Linked DNA regions of Homo sapiens: regions 1 and 3 are each linked to region 2. The links are contacts of gene promoters, found by promoter capture Hi-C in human tissues and cell types (Jung and others, 2019). All regions are on one chromosome and are shown on one strand. Each heading gives the region's core, a stretch centred on a gene start or on the middle of the fragment in contact. The rest is flanking DNA. Distances are from core to core; before and after follow the strand shown. Region 1 overlaps GPATCH8 (G-patch domain containing 8). Region 2 holds the start of CCDC43 (coiled-coil domain containing 43). Region 3 holds the start of EFTUD2 (elongation factor Tu GTP binding domain containing 2).

Region 1 (2,700 bases), core at 4-2,503, 230 kb before region 2:
GACTTCCTACTCACAAGGGGGTTGAAACAATTTTTTAATTAAATATTCAGACTGATCACATACTTAATTTAAGTATGAAAGGAGTGCACAAAAGTAGAAAACATCATCCTTGGCTTCAAGGAAACTTCAAAGGTCTACAGCAGTTAAAAAAAAAAGCAAGACTTGAGGGACTGGGAAATAAACCTGAAAGTCAGGAACCATGTCTTATCTACTCTCCATGTCTTAGGGTATTTACTGCTGGTATAACAAGAATGTAGTGTTAGGTCAGTAAATATGTGTTGGTTGTCTAAATGTACTCATCGAACCTTCTAAACAGGGTGAGATAGGAAATAATATCAGACCCCATTCATTTTTCCTAGGAGCTAAACTTTTGTCTGTCACCAAAGAATCAGCCAAATCATCAAATAGTACTTACACAATGTAACAAAGAAACTTCAGGCACCATTTCTGGGCTACACCTATTGACTAAATGTATTTCACAGAAAAATAAAAATTTTGAACTACATTCCATTTCAAAGCTGACAAAAGGTTATAAAACAATTTCCAGAACTGAATCCAGTCTAAATGCTACAAAATACAACTATCATTCACTCTTGCTTTATTCTGAATTAAACATATCCTCTGTTTCTATAATAAACAATTGTTCATAATATTTCTCATCAGTAGTGCTTTTTTTGTGTTGTTTCCTTCAGATATCTTGTCAACATTATCTTTTCTTCAGGTCTTTTATTTTTTAATACTAATAATTATCGGCCATATATAATAACTTTTTTAAAATTTCTGAAATATTTTAACAAATACTAAAGGAGAATGAAATGTGAATAAGAAAATGGGTACAAAAATAAACTCAGTTTACAAAGTACAATTTAATATCCTGCCACAGATAACTTCATTCCAGAGTCTGCATGCCCTATTCTCCAATCTATTCAGTAACAAGACATCAGCACTGGAGCACCAAGAACTGCAACTTTTGTTGGCAAAAGCCTTGCATGGGTCAAAATAATTTTTAAAGCTTTGACAAAAAAGCCCAAAAGGACCAGGCTTAAAATTTTAGTGGATGGTTGCATGTGAGATATGTTAAGAGTCCTAAACTCAAATCAAAAGGAAAGTTGACAATGAACTAGTCAATGTGAAGAACTTACAAAAGCATAAGCCCAGAAATCACATGCGATGCCTACTGTTTACACTAGAGTGACAGGGCTTTTTTGAATGGTTATTTATATCAAAGGTTTAGTATGGTCAAAGAAATCTGTCATAAATTGCCTCAATATGCAATAAATGTGGATATATTCTAGGTTAAATTATGTGGGTACTATAGAAAGAGGTATGTGAGAGAAACCAGCACAATGCCTGCATGTACACTGCTGAATCCGACACTAGGAAGTAAACAGTCAGTTATGAAACAAACTCAATTCTTAATGTTGGAAACAGAATAAGGCTCCATTCTTTTTGGAGAATAAAGATACTAATCATTTAAAACAGATGGACTTTGCACCAACAATGTAAATATACTTCACATACACAACTGTACACTTAAAAATGATTAAGATGCTAAATTTTATGTTATGTGTTTTGGAAAGGGTGAATTTTATTTTATTTATTTATTTATTTTAAACAGAGGGTCTTGCTCTGTCACCCAGGCTGGAGTGCAATGGCCCAATCATAGTTCACTGCATCCTTCAAATCCTGGGCTCAAGTGATCCTCCCACCTCAGCCTCCCTAGTAGCTGGGACTATAGGTGTGTGCCACCAAGTCCAGCCAATTAATTTTTTTTTTTTGTAGAGATGGGGGTCTTGCTATATTGCCCAGGCTGGTCTCAACTCCTGGCCTCAAGTAATCCTTCTGCCTCAGCTTCCCAAAGTGCTGGGATTTCAGGCGCTAGCCACTGCACCCGGCTATGTTATCCGTTTTTTAACAATTAAAAAGAAAAAAAACCTTCAAATGAGCTTTAAATTTCCCTTGAATTTTTAAATGAATAGATTTATGAGTTATTGAGTACTTACTATATATACTTGTTACCATGGAGATGGAGGCAAAATATGGATAAAACCTAACTCCTCTTTTCAAGAAGCTCAAAGTTTAAAGGGAACCAAAATTCTAAACTGTTTTTTTTTCGTGTGTGTGTGAGACAGAGTCTCACTCTGTCACCCAGGCTAGAGCGTAGTGGTGCGATCAAGGGTCACTGCAGCCTCAACCTTCCGGGCTCAGGCAATCCTCCTACCTTAAACCTCTTAACTGGGACCACAGGCATGGACTACCAAGCCCAACTAATTTTTGGGGGGTGGGGTGTAGGGGGAGATAGAGATGGGGTCTATGTTGCCTAGGCTGGTCTCAAACTCCTGGGCTCAGGTGATCCTCCTGCCTCAACCTCCCAAAGTGCTGAGGTTACAGGCATAAGCCACAGCACCCTGCCTAAAATCTCCTTAAAAACAAAAATTGAAAATAACTTTGGATCATCCAAAGTAGGTGAGTAGCCATTTACCTATCCTTTCTTAAACACATTATCTATCTCTTCTCCCTCCTTTCTCTCTGCAGGTTCTAGTTGTACTTTAAAGTCTCTGATGCTTAACATAAAAAATTCTGGGATTCAAACAGATTTGCTAGCCACTATGAACCAGCCCCACCTTGTGTGCCTGAACAAAGAGAATAACAATCAACAATGTTCCTGGGTGTCCTCGAATAGAAGAGGTATTTCAAATT
Region 2 (2,700 bases), core at 41-2,540:
CAAAATTGGTTTTGAGAATAACAAAGAACCCATTTTTCTAACCTGTCCATTGTAATAAATGCCAGAGGATAAAGCCTTTGATGGACAGACAGGTGGCTCTCACAGTAGCAATCAGGTATCCAGGATCTCCTCTAATCCATGAATGCAGAGACAACTCTAGCTTCTACAGCATTTAGTGATGATTCAAGTAAATTTTATTTTTAAGCTTGTATTTAAAAGGAAACAATTTGTTAGACAGCCACAGGTAGCACCTACAACCAATTTAATCTGTAATAACCAGTCTAATAAGTGTGTATGTTGGAGGTGTGGGAAGTGAAGATGAAGGCAGCAGAAATGATCAGGTTGAAAAAGTGGACATCTGGGTGACTTACTATGTAAACATAGCTTAAAGTACACATTTCTGAATACCTTGCTTCTAACAGGCTAAGGACTAAGTTTCTCTCTCTTCGTTAAAGCTCTGATCTCTCTCATACCCTCCTTCCCACCACCAATGATTACTGTAAATACTGTAATGGATCAAGCACGACGTTTGCTTCAGTTCTGCGTGGGCATGAAAAGACTTCTACCACCAGCTTACCTTTTATGGACTCCTACATCCATATAAGAATCAAAAGGGCACTTCCTGCAGGCTTCTGTCATGGGACAGCCCTGGGAACTGCCTTGTAATAGGCACAGACCTCCCAAGAGCATTTTAATACCCCCAGTGAACACTGTAAACGGATGGAAATGGAATTGGTCGTCAGATATTTATGATAACATTCCCATTCTGACATTTCAATGCCTTCGGAAGAACCCTCCTCGGCTCACTCACAAGCATCGGAGAGGGCCTTGTCCCCAAGAATACGAGAAAGCCCTTCCTCTCTGTGTACCTGCAGCTTTCAGGCTTCCCACACCTGGTTGGGGAGCAACCTCCTTCCCCCGCCGCCCAGATATCAGAGGAGTATACCTCTCCCAGGTGAGACCACTGAGCCTCTGGGATACCCGGTAGGGGAGGGAGGGTGCAAAGTACTGACAGGTCCTCAGATGCTGGCCAGAGGCTGAAGGAATGTGTCCAGGCTACTCACCAGGAAAGCAGAGAGGATCCCCTGCAGAGCGTCCAGCTTCTCTTCTTCCTCCTCCTCCTGCAGGATACCCAAGATGTAGGCTCCATAAACGGCTCGGTCCACTCCCAGTGCCTCCAACCGTCCGTCCAGCCAGGAGCCAAAGCCGCCGCCTCCGCCATCGCCTTCGCCAGGGGCTATCGCGGCCACTTCGCTGGGCGCCGCCATCTTGGGGTCAGGGTCCTGCAAGCCCCTAGGGCGCCTACCGCAGTGCCTGACGGGCCGCGCCGCAGGTCCACCGCGCATGCCTGAAGAGGAAGCCCAGGCCCGTAAGTGCAAAGAGCGCAGCCGTGTCGGCCGGCTTGAGAGTTTTGTGCTTTCTAGATGAAGCGCGTCTTCGCATACGTGCGGTCGCGTGATCTCACAAGATGCTTGGCATGTGAGTATTCTTAACAGACTCATTCTACAGTTCGGGAAGTTGAGAGAGGTGCAGTAATTTGGCCAAAGTCACGCGGCTAATAACTACCCAGGACTGGAGCTCAGCGTGGATGCCATCGCTTCCTCCACCCGACCGAGCTGCCTTCCCCGCGCTTTCGGGGGATGCTGGCCGCCCACTCCCACACAGCTGTCTGGCAAGAACCTCCTGACAGCCTGGAATACCCTCGTCGTCGCTACCGACGGCTACCACCTTCACCTGTACAAGCCCTTCCCTGTCAAAGTAAAGGTTGCAGAAAACCTTCCCTGATTCCATGGTAGGCACTCAGTAAATAAACAGGCAACCTCAAGTTATTTCTTCCACTCATTGATTCAACGCGTGCACGGGACTATTCTTTGAGAAGCGTACCCCACCCTCTGCTAGGCACTGTGCCAAAAGCTTTTCATGCATTATCTCTTGTAATCCTCCCTACAGCCCTGTGGGGAGATGCTTTTATTGTCCACATTTTAAAGATAAGGAGACAGGCCGGGCGCCATGTCTCACGCCTGTAATCCCAACAGTTTGGGAAGCCGAGGCGGGTGGATCACCTGAGGTCAGGAGTTCGAGACCAGCCTGGCCGACATGGTGAAACCCCGTCTCTAGTAAAAATACAAAAATAAGGCCGGGCACGGTGGCTCACTCCCGTAATCCCAGCACTTTGGAAGGCCAAAGTGGGCAGCTCACCTGAGGTCTGGAGTTCGAGACTAGCCTGACCAAAATGGAGAACCCCCGTCTCTACTAAAAATACAAAATTAGCCGGGCGTGGTGGGACATGCCTGTAATCCCAGCTACGTGGGAGGCTGAGGCAGGAGAATCGCTTGAACCCAGGAGGCGGAGGTTGCGGTGAGCAGAGATCGTGCCATTGCACTCCAGCCTGGGCAACAAGAGCGAAATTCCGTCTCAAAACAAACAACAACAACAACAAAAGCCAGGTGTGGTGGCGCGGGCCTGTAATCCCAGCTACTCAGAATCGCTGGAACCCGGAAGGCGGAGGTTGCAGTGAGCCAAGATCGCGCCGCTGCACTCCAGCCTGAGCGACAGTGAGACTCCATCTCAAAAACAAACAAACAAACGAACAAACAAAATCACTAAAGATAAGGAGACAGATATGGAGAGAGTCACACAACTAGAGGGCGCCTAACCAGTGGCAAGAACTCTTCTTTGGCAGAGTTATGAGAGCTTCAG
Region 3 (2,700 bases), core at 17-2,516, 210 kb after region 2:
CAAGACCCCAGTCAAGGGATTGAAGAAATTATTTATTTATTTTATATATATTTTTTGAGACAGAGTTTTGCTCTTGTTGCCCAGGCTGGAGTACAACGGCACGATCTCAGTTCACTGCAACCTCCGCCTCCTGGTTTCAAGCGATTCTCCTGCCTCAGCCTCCCGAGTAGTTGGGACTACAGGAGTGCACCACTACGCCTGGCTAATTTTTTTGTATTCTTAGTAGAGATGGGTTTTCACCATGTTGGCCAGGCTGGTCTCGAACTCCTGACCTCAGGTGATCCGCCCGCGTCTTTCTCCCAAAGTGCTGGGATTACAGGCGTGAGCCACCGCGCCCGGCCGATTGAAGAAACTGTTATAGAAAGCTGTTCATGGAACAAGCCAAGCTCATTTCTGCCTCAGGGCCACTGCACTTGCCTTTCTCTTTGTCCAAAACGCTCTCCCCTTTGATATTTTTCACCTTGTTCCTTTATTTCAATCAAGTCTCCACTAAAATGTCATCTTCTCTGTCACTCTAAAAAGTCCCCCATACATACTCTCCAACTTCCCACTTTCACTGTTTTATTGCTATTCACAAATGTTATACATTTATCACTAGCTGACTTGTATCTAGTTGTTTACTGTTCATTTCCCCAACTACAATTGAAGCAAAGACTTTGTTCACTTAGTACTGTGCCTAGCATAGACTAAGCCCTCAATAAGTATTTACTGAACTAATGAATGACTCTAACAAGGTACACAGAATATAGCTGATTTGCCCACAGTTACACAAAACTAGCGACTCATGGTAACAAACCTCACTGCCGCTTCCCGCTACAATGCAGGAGCTCAGAGGACTTCGGAGGGAACTTGGCAAAGAACGGCTGAAAGCGGCACGGATAGAAGAGGAAGTGAGCGAGGGGACTGGACAGTTAGAGCACCACTCCTACCTAGCGATACGATTTTACGGACTGAGGCTATAGAGGCAGCCCCGAAATCGAGGTGTGTGCGTGTGTGCGCGCTTCGGAAGCCTTGGGAAGGCACGAGGACGACAGGGTCTTCCATTCTTTTTCCCGCTCCAGGCCTCAATTTACCGATCCGTAAAGCGAAAGGGGCCAATAGCATATAAGGCCCCTTCCAGATCTGACGCTTTTTAATTTCCTATCCCACCTGGAGCAACCCTTCCGTGCCGCTGACCCGCTTCAACTTACCTCTCGCCTGCTCAGCTAAGAGTTCCCAGGCCGCTGCCGGAGATCGTGCTTCCGCCCCACGCCGAGGAAACGCCTGCGCCCGCCGCCAGGAAGGACCCCGCAGACGCCGCTGTCGCCTTTCTGCCCGGGAGGACAACCCTCTGCCTGAGGACCAGTTCCGAGGTATGCCCGCCGCGGACTGGCAAGGCGGAGTAGCGGGTCCCCAAGACGAGTAGCCCAAGACGTGGGCTGCTCCAAAGAGGGTGAGAGCTGAGGATGAACGAATCTGATCAGGCGCCTCGGGACCACCCTGAAAATGGGGGGAGGGGCCTTCGGGCAGATCACGTGGTCAGGCTGTTAGCGCAGTTGCTAGGCAACCACAGCTGCGGGCGTGGTCTGCGCGGGGTTGCCCTCCTGTTCTGGTTTATCAGGGGATCCCCAAAGAAAGCAAGGGGACCAAGGCCGGGACTGCTGGGGTGAAGGTCCGGGAGGCTGAGTAAGGGGACGGAAGGGTTAGTTCTATGTATTAAATGCCTGGGGAGGGCTGAGAACTGGACACCTGATTTCGGTTACTGGCCACCCCAGCCCCTTCTTGGCGTTCAGATTCCCTACGTTGGGGTAGGGTGGCTATGGGATTGGTTGGGGACTTCCTGCTTCCTTGCGCTAGGGCTGTTGGTGATGACCCCGCCACAAAATCTAGCTCAACTCACTAGGAGTTTGCAGTTCAGAGAGGTCCCACAAGTAAATGCCAGAGCCACGACTAGAACCCACGTAGAGAATCTCTCTGCAGTGGCTCACGCCTGTAATCCCAGCACTTTGGGAGGCCGAGGCGCGCGGATTACTTGAGGTCAGGATCGAAAATTGCTTGAACCCCGGAGGCAGAGGTTGCAATGAGCCAAGATCGCGCCACTGCACTCCAGCCTGGGCAACAGAGCCAGAAAAAAAAAAAAAGAAAAGAATATCTCTGTAGAAATGATCAGTCAGCCTCAGATATGCAGAAACTACAGAAGTACAGTGATAGAACTAAAGGCATTGCCCAGGTACCTAGGGACCTCTGTTCCAGCCCTGGGCTGGACAGAGGGATTTGGGGATGGGGTCATTGAGCTCCTTCCTTTGCCCCTTCTACTTGATTTCCTGCTCAGTCATTGCATCTGGTTTGGGTGAAAGTCTCCTTCCTCATTAAAGACATTCAATGAAGAATGAAACTTTATCCCCGAGCTCAAGGGTAACTAACAAGAGTTCTGCCTTTGTGTGAGGTCCCCTGTCGAAACGACTTGCTGTAGAACAATCCTATGGGGGAAGAGTGAAGAAACTGAATTCTGAGATCCCAATGCCTCCTCGACTGAAGCACCAAAATTAAAAATATTTTTAGAGGCAAAGAGCAAAATTAAGACAGAACTCCAAATTGAAAGTCAGGACTCTGTATTCTATTTTCAGGGACAAGTCTTGTGTAAGTCCTCACTGTGAAATTCAACTTGTCTTTGTAAAATAGAAAACCAGATTTTTGTAACACCTCCCAATCTGAGTGACA

Evidence for each region. Contacts are between HindIII fragments. The study calls those that stand out against the background at their distance.
Region 1: a fragment that was not itself captured here is called in contact with the fragment with the promoter of CCDC43 in region 2 in 1 of the 25 tissues and cell types used here (mesendoderm cells).
Region 3: a contact is called between the fragment with the promoter of EFTUD2 here and the fragment with the promoter of CCDC43 in region 2, in 1 of the 25 tissues and cell types used here (hippocampus).

What each region holds. Positions count from the first base shown.
Region 1 is chr17:44,459,587-44,462,286 of GRCh38, forward strand. The region is part of intron 3 of GPATCH8 (G-patch domain containing 8); the gene reads right to left. Among named protein-coding and RNA genes, the nearest start is that of GPATCH8, 42 kb to the right of the region's middle. The HindIII fragment of the contact is 7,792 bases long and covers 1-2,700 here.
Region 2 is chr17:44,688,486-44,691,185 of GRCh38, forward strand. It overlaps CCDC43 (coiled-coil domain containing 43), which reads right to left and starts at 1,291. Exons shown (of 5, transcript NM_144609.3): 1 at 1,065-1,291. The coding sequence starts at 1,268. It overlaps LOC105371792 (a long non-coding RNA gene), which reads left to right. Exons shown (of 4, transcript XR_007065769.1): 4 at 456-528. LOC124904010 (a long non-coding RNA gene) reads left to right here and starts at 1,296. Exons shown (of 2, transcript XR_007065770.1): 1 at 1,296-1,369; 2 at 1,510-1,825. RefSeq lists enhancers at 1,024-1,613, 1,282-1,421. The HindIII fragment of the contact is 3,238 bases long and covers 1-2,700 here.
Region 3 is chr17:44,898,179-44,900,878 of GRCh38, forward strand. EFTUD2 (elongation factor Tu GTP binding domain containing 2) reads right to left here and starts at 1,267. Exons shown (of 28, transcript NM_004247.4): 1 at 1,191-1,267. It overlaps DNAAF19 (dynein axonemal assembly factor 19), which reads left to right and starts at 1,551. Exons shown (of 4, transcript NM_213607.3): 1 at 1,551-1,681. The HindIII fragment of the contact is 11,041 bases long and covers 809-2,700 here.